Linked DNA regions of Homo sapiens: region 2 is linked to region 1. Evidence: promoter capture Hi-C in 16 types of primary human blood cells and fetal thymus (Javierre and others, 2016). All regions are on one chromosome and are shown on one strand. Each heading gives the region's core, a stretch centred on a gene start or on the middle of the fragment in contact. The rest is flanking DNA. Distances are from core to core; before and after follow the strand shown.

Region 1 (5,173 bases), core at 1,024-3,523:
TTTTTAGCATTTTCCCGGACCTTTAAAAGACACTTTAAACAATATACTATTTGAAATGGCTCAAACAATACTGAACTGACTTCAGAAAATCATTTCTTTGCCACAGCCCTGACTCTCTCCCACACAGACACACGCCCATCCCCCCAGCTCATACAAAAGAACGCAAGGAGACCTCTGAGTTTGCTCACTTTGAACCTTAAACAAAAACCTTGTGGATGCAACCAGAATTATTTCAGAGGTGCCTGGTAACACCGCAGGGCAGACAGACAGGCCTGACAGCAAACCATTATCAACCCTTACTTCCCTGAGCTGTAGGGGAGTGGAGGCCGGCAACGGCTCCCAGCAAGACATTTAAAAGCTTTCTTTTCAATATTGACTGGCCCAGGAAAGCTACTGTTCAAAGGATTCCTTCACCAGCTGCAGGGATGGGGGGTGGGGAGGGTGTTGCACTCTTGCCTGGGCTACCAGCTCTTAGGGCTGACATGAAATAAAATCAGGTTCTTTTTTTTTTTTTTTTTTTTTTTTTGAGACGGAGTCTCGCTCTGTCGCCCAGGCTGGAGTGCAATGGCAGGATCTCAGCTTACTGCAACCTCCGCCTCCCAGGTTCAAGCGATTCATCTGCCTCAGCCTCCCAAGTAACTGGGATTACAGGCGCCTGCCACCACGCCCAGCTAACTTTTGGTATTTTTAGTAGAGATGGGGGTGGTTCACTATGTTGTCCAGGCTGTTCTCGAACTCTTGACCTCAGGCAATCCACCCGCCTCGGCCTCCCAAAGTGGTGGGATTACAGGCGTGAGCCACCGCGACCGGCCAAGAAAAAGAAACACATGAGAACATCTTAACAAAAGGGAAATACTGCAGTGTCTCCCATCTGCAGAAAGAACCACTGAATCCACTTATGAATCCCTCCATCTTCTTCTGTGCACTCACATACACATGTCCTAGTAGAAAATACTTAGTATTGTTTTGTGTGTTTTTGTTCTTGTTATGTAAGCATCAGTGTTGTGCATAATCAGCTTGTGGCTTGCTGTGTCCGCTCATCCTCGTTTGCTGAGTCCTAGCTGATTTGATGGACACCAGGTTGTCTCCAGTTTCTCACTGTAATAAACAATGATGCAGTGAACATCCTGTGCACAGTGGCTTTCGAAGGTAGAAGCCAAGAAGTGGACGTGATGTAAAAACTTTGTCAAATTGCCATTACTTTTATAATTAAAAACAAACCTAAAAGAATATGTCCAAAATGCTTGGGGAGAAGCCTCTAACTCCTTCCCAGCAGATATGTACTCTGGGCAAAGCCTTCAAGAACAAGTACGAATTTGCCAAATGGACAACGTGCTGATTCTGGGATACTGTGGCAGAGGAGACAGAATGCTATCGCTTTTCAAACGGCAAGATTTTACATTTAAACTCACAGAGTTATCCACAAGGCAAGATTCTGTCTCTGTCATAGCTAGGAACAGCTGAAGAGTCTGCCTCTTGCTCCAACATGGCTGGGTACCGTGGCTGGATAACCGTTCCCGGTGCAGGTAACAGGTGGACAATATCACAATATCACTGCACCCCTCTCGTGAAAAAGAAAGGGAACACAGTCTAGCACTCACCAGAGAAGCAGGTTTTTCTTCATCTTCCAGAAATGTGTTCTAAAACACCAGAAAAAAACATCAGCCAATCATCGACCTGTTAACCTAACCCCAGCTCAAGAGATGGAACTCGGATCCCATTGCCAAGTCAGCACCGGCAGGCACAAAGGTGGCAGGGCCGGGAGACACCACTTTCCCGAGAGTCCTATCCCCACCCCCAACAGGGATCGGGAGAGAGCAGTTAGCACAGGGCTCGTCTCAGATGGGCTTCTCACCAGCGGGGTGCCCCTAACCTAGACCCCTTGCCTCTCCAAGCCTGTTTCCCTCTCTTTCCCAGTTACTACTTGGGGCTCTTTGCACGGTCTATGGTGGCACAAGAAGTGGGTTCGGAAACCCAGTAGCTGAATTGAAGCGGAGGGGAGGCTTTTCCGCACCTACGGCTACAGGGCGGCGAGAGCAGGCTTGCCAGGCAACCCTCGAAAGGCCTTCCGGGAAGAGGGGGAAGAGTGACGCTTGGGTGTGGGGGCACATCCCCAGCAACCGGACGAGGCCGCCACCCCCAAGGCCCTCCTGGGCTTCGGATCCCGCGCCAACCCCTCGCCCAGGTCTCGGAGCGAACTCTCCGCGCCAGGCGGGCGGGGCGGAGGGAGGAGGGAGTTGAGAGTGGACGGCCGGGAGTGGGAGGAAAAGCGCAGACGCCAGGAACGCCCCGTGAGTGAGGAGAGGAGAGCGTGGGAGTCACGCGGAGAAGCCAGACCCAGACGCCGACCGGGCACTGGTGGCGCTGCCGGGGTCCCGGGGGTTCCTGGACCCCCTACCCCAGGCCCCTCCAAAGCAACTGGGGTAAACCAGACGCACTGTGAGGCCAGCGCAGCTGCTGGACACGGTCCCCGGCGCCGCTCCAACCAGACCGCGACCGCTAAGCCCCTCCTTTCGAGAAACTCTGGGGCCGCCCCTGGAAGTGGCGGGGCGAAGGGACCGGAGGAGGGACCGGAGGAGCGAGGCGCGCGGCGCAGCGATGGAGCCGGTCAGCACGGGCGCGGAGGCCGGCATGGAGGGCGCGGGAGGTGACCCGTACCGGCGACCTGCGCGGCGCACGCAGTGGCTGCTGAGCGCCCTGGCGCACCACTACGGGCTGGACCGCGGCGTGGAGAACGAGATCGTGGTGCTGGCCACCGGCCTGGACCAGTACCTGCAGGAGGTCTTCCACCACCTGGACTGCCGCGGCGCCGGCCGTCTGCCCCGCGCCGACTTCCGAGCGCTCTGCGCTGTGCTGGGGCTGCGCGCGGAGGGGGCCACCACGGCCGGGCAGGCAGCAGGTGACGGGAACTCCAGAGATGTGACCCCCGGGGATGCGGCCGCTGAGTTGGCCACGGACGGGGACTCAGATACCGATGAAGAGGCGCGCCTGGCGCTGCGCGCCGAGCCGCCGGAGCTCACCTTCCGCCAGTTCCACGCGCGCCTCTGTGGCTACTTCGGCACCCGTGCGGGGCCCCGGCTGCCCCGCGGCGCTCTCAGCGAGCACATCGAGACGCAGATCCGCCTGCGCCGTCCGCGCCGCCGCCGCCGCCCGCCCTGCGCGCCTGGCCCCGACAGCGGTCCTGACTGTGAGCGCGTTGCGCGGCTGGAGGAGGAGAATAGCAGCTTGCGCGAGTTGGTGGAGGACCTGCGCGCCGCGCTGCAGAGCAGTGATGCGCGCTGCCTAGCACTGCAGGTGCGCGCCGGCCACGAAGGGAGGGTGGTAACGCCCGGGAGAGGGCTCGAACTAAAAGCTGGCTGGCTGCGGAGCCCGACAGGACAGAGTCAGAGGAAGGGGAGACAGAGGGCAGCCCCACACCATCCCACTCCGCATCAGCACACTTGCATCTTGCCCCTGTTCCTCCCCATTCCACTCCAGTCCCCAACCCTATTCTTACCACCTATTCCATTCCTGAAAACCCCAATCACACTCAAACAACCATACCCCACTTTTCTGCTCCACCGCCACATCATCGCGTCTTGCCCCTTTAACCTAGGAATTGCACCTGTCTGGGTAGTCTCACATATTCCCTTTCAACAAGCATCTTTCTCTCTCCTTCCTGCCAGGCTTCTGGGAGGTTTAGGAGACAGAAGTGTGAAGAAGGCCCTGTCCTCACCTTTAGGGATATCCCTGCCTCCTGGGGTAGACTGACAGCTCCTTCTGTCAATCAGCAAAGACTTATGGGGCTCCCTGTGGGAGAAACAGAGACAAGTGAGAAACAGACAATGTGGCTCACACTGTGGATCAGGCACTCACGGGCCACCAAGTGCCTGCGGGAACCAGACCCGCTCTGGGCTATTGAGAAGAAACCATGGGGTGAGATAGGGACCCAGCCTTAGCATCTGGGAGCCGTCGACAAACACTTAAGCACTGTGCCAGCCGAGCACCAAGGGCAGTGCTGGGCCGCAGGGGTCAGAGGAGGAAAGGAACAGCCCCTACCCCAGGCGACAACAGGCCAGGAAGAAACTGACATTATATGACCCCGCCTTAGCTCAGGACACTGCAGAGTGCAGGGAAGTGGCAAGGTGTGGTTTTCAGTGTCAGTGTGCATGGAAGCCAGGGTGGAGGCGGGAAACTACTCCTCTGATGTGGAATCCCAAGTAACGTACTGGGAGCCATGGGATGCGCCTGAACGGTCTTCCGGCATCTCTCATGCTTGGTATTTATTGAGCACCTACTATGTGCCAGGTTTGTTTTAGGCTCTGGGAACACACCAGTAAAGACAGATAGAAACCACCCTCAAAAGCCTCTAGTGAGCAGGCACGGGGAGGGCTGGAAATGCCACTGGGGGGAGTCTAGGAGATGAGGAACCGCCACCCGGCAGGCTGAACGCCGCCAATACAGTAGGCCGAGAAGAGTCGCGAGGTTGGTACTATAGAGGGAACAGAATACAGGCGTCGTGTCTCAGTTTCCTTCAGTGAAAAAACGTTGGGGGGTGGGGGATGAGGAGGAATCAGAGCTTGGGCCTCCCTGGGGATGTGGCGAGGGTTAAAGGAGCTTGGACGCACCGGACCTAAGGGCCTGGCACCCGGAAGCAGACGGCGCAAGAAACGTGCTCAAGCGCTTCTGGGTGCAGAGGCATGGGGCCGCCGTCGTGGCGGGCGTTCGTCTGGTGCATCTGGCTGGGGCACTTACCCCCTGCCCCTGCTGCCCTGTCCCCGCAGGTCGGACTCTGGAAGAGCCAGGCGAGCACCCACGAGATGGGGCACGGCGGGCCGGAGGCTGCGGTGCGGGAGCTGCGTCAGGCGCAGGGCGCCCTGGCTGCGGCGGAGGCCCGCGCTGGGCGGCTGCGCCGTGGCCAGGCCGAGGTGCGGCGGCGCGCGGAGGAGGCCCGGCAGGTGGTGCTGCGCAGCCTGCACCGCGTGCGAGAGCTGGAGGCGCTGGCGCAACAGGTGCCCGGCTTGCAGCGCTGGGTGCGGCGGCTGGAGGCGGAGCTGCAACGCTACAGGTGAGCGGGGGCGCGTGCCCTGGGCCCAAGTTCCCCAATTCGGCTCCCATTTTCCCAAACTTCGGGTGTGCAATCCCCCTCCCACGCGCTCTCGTGTTCCGCAGTTTCTCCATGCGTTTATTCATG
Region 2 (5,173 bases), core at 1,002-3,501, 110 kb after region 1:
AGGTGAAAACCTCTAACAAGTAGTGCTCACACACCGCTTCTGGGATTAAGTTTGCCTTCTTCCAATCCAGAAAAGGGAGATTTGCGAGGCAAACTGGTGCAAGTAGAGGAGAGCTGATTTTAATGGTATCTGGATAGGAGCTATTAATGGCAAACGGTCCTTATTCATGAACCCAAAGCAGGTTAGAAAAATCTGATATGTGGCCAGGCGCAGTGGCTCACGCCTGTAATCCCAGCACTTTGGGAGGCTGAGGCAGGCAGATCACGAGGTCAAGGGATCGAGACCATCCTGGCTAACATGGTGACACCCCGTCTCTACTAAAAATACAAAAATTAGCTAGGCGTGGTGGTGTGTGCCTGTAGTCCCAGCTACTTGGGAGGCTGAGGCAGGAGAACTGCTTGAACCAGGGAGGTGGAGGTTGCAGTGAGCCGGGATCACGCCTCGCGCCACTGCACTCCACCTGGTGACAGAGCGAGACTCCGTCTCGAAAGAAAAAAAAAAGAAAGATCTGGTATGTAACAGCATTTGGTTAGCTTCTGCTGCCACATCAACAATAAAACAGCATTTCACAGGCCAGTCTAGAAAGTGGGATTTTTCTGTCATTCACACTGGCCATTCCGAACACTACCCCCAGTTCATCTGAATTAATAAACATTTATTTAATAAGTACTGGGCATTAAAATGTTGACATGACACTGCTAATCAATGTGTAAAATGCAAGCAATACAAGATGGCCTAGATTTTAAATCAGTCCCAACTTTTTTCATTTGTGGGTTTGTGTGTGTTTGCGGTAGTAGGAGAGGGCACAAGACAGCAATGAGGAGAAAAGTACCAGACTAGGAGCTGAAAAGCTTGGCTCTGGTTCAGACTTTGCCACAAATGGGCCTTCATTTCCTCTTCTGTAAGATGGGGATAGTCTCCCACAGGGTGGCTATGAGGATCAAATGCAACAACTCATGAGAAAAGCGATGGAAACTTATAAAACGCATGCACATTTGAGGGAGAGTTGCTCCTCTTATTACTGAACTCTGAGAATTCCTCATACCCAAAGCACCCAGGAAAACCGCCTAGCATGAGGTCTCAGCAAAGGCCAATCACAGCCCGAGCACTACACAAAGGCCAGTGCAAGGTAAAGAAACCTACAAGGGCTAAACAACGAACAAGAGGAAAGCAAGGAAAGCAGACATGTGGATATCCTGAGTCACAGCATGGAGACAAAAGGTGGTAAAGGCCTTGTGTGCCTCTACTTCCCACAATCCCTGATCAGTTTGGGGTCACTGTATAGCTCTATTTCTAGTACGAGCATAGCCACAGGGGCCAGTCTCTTGCCTTTATTGTCTTCACTTTACTGATAGGACAACAGGTCAATGAAGTGACTTGTTTACGGTCAGCTGGGCAACTAGGCTGAGAAACCAAGCTTCCTGACCCCCACCCCCCGCAATCCACTCTCTCTCATCAGGTGGTTACACACCAACATCAGTTCCCATCTGTGGATGATCCACTATGGGCCAGGTCCTTAAGGGTAGGGGTTTTGCAGGTAAGACAGATTTGAAGAGGTAAAGTCACATGCCTATGGTACAGTATCCCCCACTTATCCATGGTTTCACTTTCCAAGGTTTCAGCTACCTGCCATCAACTTTGCTCTAAATGTATTAAGTAGGGCCAGGCGTGGTGGCTCATGCCTGTAATTCCAGCACTTTGGGAGGCCGAGGTGGGTAGATCACCTGAGGTCGGGAGTTCGAAACCAGCCTGGCCAACATGGTGAAACGTTGTCTCTACTAAAAAAAAAACAAAAAACAAAAAACAAAATCAGCCAGGCACAGCGGTGCATGCCTGTAATCCCAGCTACTAAGGAGGCTGAGGCAGGAGAATCACTTGAGCCCAGGAGGCGGAGGTTGCAGTGAGCAGAGGTCATGCCATTGCACTCCAGCCTGGGCAACAAGAGCGAAACCCCGTCTCAAAAAATAAAATAAAAAATAAAAATATTAAGTAGGCCAGGCGCGGTGGCTCACACCTGTAATCACAGCACTTTGGGAGACCCAGGTGGGTGGATCACTTGAGGTCAGGAGTTTGAGACCAGCCTGGCCAACATGGTGAAACCCCATCTCTACCAAAAAATACAAAAATTAGCTGGGTGTGGTAGTGGGCACCTGTAATCCCAGCTACTTGGGAGGCTGAGGCAGGAGAATCGCTTGAACCTGGGAGGTGGAGGTTCCAGTGAGCCGAGATCACACCACTCCACTCCCTCCTGGACGACAGAGTGAGATTCTGTCTCAAAAAAACAAATAAAAATATTAAATGGTAGATTCTAGAAATAATGCATAAGTCGATTGCACATCATTCTGAGTAGCATGATGAAATCTCACGCCATCCTGCTCCGTCCCACCTGGGATGTGAATCATACCTTTGTCCAGCATGTACTGTATCACAGTGCTTGTGTTCAAAGAATCCTTATTTTACTTAATAATGGCCCCAAAGCGCAGGAATAGCGATGCTGGCATATTGTTATAACTGTTCTATTTTGTTATTAATTATTGTTGTTAATTTCGTACTGTGCCTAATTCATAAATTAAACTTTATCATGGGCATGTATGTATAAGACAAAACATAGTCTATATAGCGTTCAGTACCATCTGAAGTTTCAGGCATCCACTGGGGGTCTTAGAACATATCCATTGAGGATAAGATTTAACCTGGTGCTGTGCAGTTCTAAAGCTGGCCCTCTTTCCACTATCTCTCCACCAGACATGCTGTCTCAGGATTCTAAGAAACCTCGAGAGGCAAGGTTTATTTTGCAATTAGGATGGCTGTCCCTGGTATCAAGAACAGATTTCTTCAGAAAATCAGCACGACCTAGAACTTCTTTCTTATCTAACAGTCCTTTTGCTATTTCTAATGAAAACTGAAAAAGTCAAACAAACTTTATCCAAATAGGAAAAGAACAGATGAGCAGAACTAGACTCTTGATTGGAAGGACTGTGAATGCAAACTTTAACCAGAAACCATTTCCTCTTATCCCGCCCTGCCCCCTCTTTTTGAAGTGCCAGGAGCAGCTACAAAAACAAATTTGACTCCTAGGGCAAGGGGAAGCTTGAGAGTCAAGGCCAAAGGTCCTGAAATCTGGAGGTCCAGGCCCAAGGGCACAGACTTTACCTCTATGAAGGAGAGATCTGGCAGCATCCCTAGCGAGCAGACAGTGAGCCTGAGAGAGAGCTGAATAGAGGGGTACAGTTCCATAAGGCTGACCTCTGCGCTGGACTTGAGGCCGGTGTGCCTAGTGATCTGCAAAAACGAGTTTACATAACAGGCCTTTGTGTTGTCCCAGATAAGAGTGAGTAGAGGAGCTTCAGAATGTTTTAAGGATTTAGAGCCAGCTGAGATTTCCTGAGGACACTGAGGTGGGGAGGAGGGAGGGGTGGGGGAGGGGCAAATTCAGACCTAATCTGTCTCATCTAGGGAGGAAAACAGTAACTGCAGCAATAAAAAAATATATATTTATAAATCCTTGTTTTTAAATAAGAAATGAGTAACACTGATGGCTTCTTCTTAGAGGACACTGGGTGGCTTACGGGACAAACACGGAAGGGAGACTTTTCACTATATATACCCTTTGAAGTTTTTAAAATTTTGAAATTTGAACCATGTGAATGGTTTATCTATTCAAAAGTAAGTCATGGAAACTTTATTTTAAGCATGTTCAAAGTTTTCTGACAACCCTAAGAAAGAGGCAGAGCAAAGACCATTAGTCCCATTTCACAGATGAGGAAGCCTGAGGCTCCAAGGAGAAAAAAAATGAATTGCCCAAGTCTGTGGCAGGGTTGAAGCAAGACTCAGAACTTCAGACTCCTAGTCCAGTGCTCTCTGTCAGAGACTCCACAGTATGCAAGATAAGCAGCACTCAGATTCACTTTATAAGTCCAGTTCTCATAGCTACAGTCAAATGCATCCACAAGAACACTGGAAATGATCACCATATACAAAGCCTTACTGACTCGTACAGCAGTGTCTCTGAGCCGTTTGGGTATATCTACACGTTTTGGTTAATAATAAACCAAACACCCTAAAACTCTTTAACTGTCAACCCCAATCTTTCTAAAATGCCCCATTCCACATTCTTCTCTCAGTGAATGCAATGGCCACAACTGCATTTTTATTAGATCCATTCACTTTCAGAATCTCACGGTCATCTTTATGAACTCAGAGCAAATCAGAAGGGTGGTCAAGTAAAAATGAAGACTGGGCTTAGGAGCCAGCCAAACCCTTGGTTTTGCCACAGAGTTGTAAGTGACCTTGGCCTCAGCTTTCTCTCTATAAAGGAACCAATTAACAGGCACATATTGGACACCATGTGTTTGACACTGGCCCACTGGATCCCTGTGTCTTCAAGGAGCTTACCTTCTATAGGGGCAGACAGAAAAAAACAGTTAATTTGAAGCTGTGGTAAGTGTTATGACCAGATACAATAGAGTTACAGAATAGAGGACCTGGGAGATCAGGCAAGGCCTCTCTGAAGATGTGGCATTTGCGTTGGGACCTGAATGATGAAGTAGCAGTTACGTGGGGATCTAGAGGCAGAGTATGATGGGCACGGGAAGAGATGCAAAGGTCCTGAGGCAGGGGTAAGCCCACCATGTTGAAGGGCTAGTGAAGCTGGAGAGCAGGCAGTGAAGGGTAGAGATGGGCCTCTGTCTGCCTCTCCAACTTTGTCTCCTTCCAGAGGTCCATCTCTTTGGGGAAGGTGTTTGGAGGTTATTCTGGTTGTAATGGGAAGTGGCTACAGAAATAAAGTAATTTGATTAAATCTGTGATTCTCAAATGTTTCGGTTTTTTTAGCAGGAGAATTCTTTAGTCAAATAACAAGAATTTCAACCTACAACTAGATAAAGGTATTGCTCTGACTGGTTGGGAAGCTAGTTAAAGCCCTTCTGACCCTCTCTCTGACCTCTTGGCTTTTCTCCTTACCTTTCAGTACCTCCAAGCTCACAGGAGCTAGAAAACCACCAGGTGATCCATCTCTAAGCTTCCTGAAGCTCTAATAAAACCCAGCATCATTGTAAAGAATCACAGGGAAAGCTTTAGGATATAAGACTGGATGCTTGCTGGACAAGCATCTCGGGCTTCCCAAGACAGGCCCTGAGAAGGTTTATTTTATTTTATTCTAAATAGATACCAC

Evidence for each region. The method cuts DNA at HindIII sites, captures the fragments that hold promoters and counts their contacts. A CHiCAGO score of 5 or more calls a contact.
Region 2: a fragment that was not itself captured here is called in contact with the fragment with the promoter of EFCC1 in region 1 in 1 of 17 cell types (naive CD4 T cells); the score reaches 5.5 in naive CD4 T cells.

Annotation. Positions count from the first base shown.
Region 1 is chr3:128,999,031-129,004,203 of GRCh38, forward strand. It overlaps EFCC1 (EF-hand and coiled-coil domain containing 1), which reads left to right and starts at 2,274. Exons shown (of 8, transcript NM_001377500.1): 1 at 2,274-3,294; 2 at 4,764-5,047. The coding sequence starts at 2,599. It also overlaps a transcript of CFAP92 not described here. The HindIII fragment of the contact is 12,645 bases long and covers 357-5,173 here.
Region 2 is chr3:129,113,546-129,118,718 of GRCh38, forward strand. All of the region lies in intron 1 of RAB43 (RAB43, member RAS oncogene family), which reads right to left. All of the region lies in intron 11 of ISY1-RAB43 (ISY1-RAB43 readthrough), which reads right to left. Among named protein-coding and RNA genes, the nearest start is that of RAB43, 5.7 kb to the right of the region's middle. The HindIII fragment of the contact is 1,673 bases long and covers 1,416-3,088 here.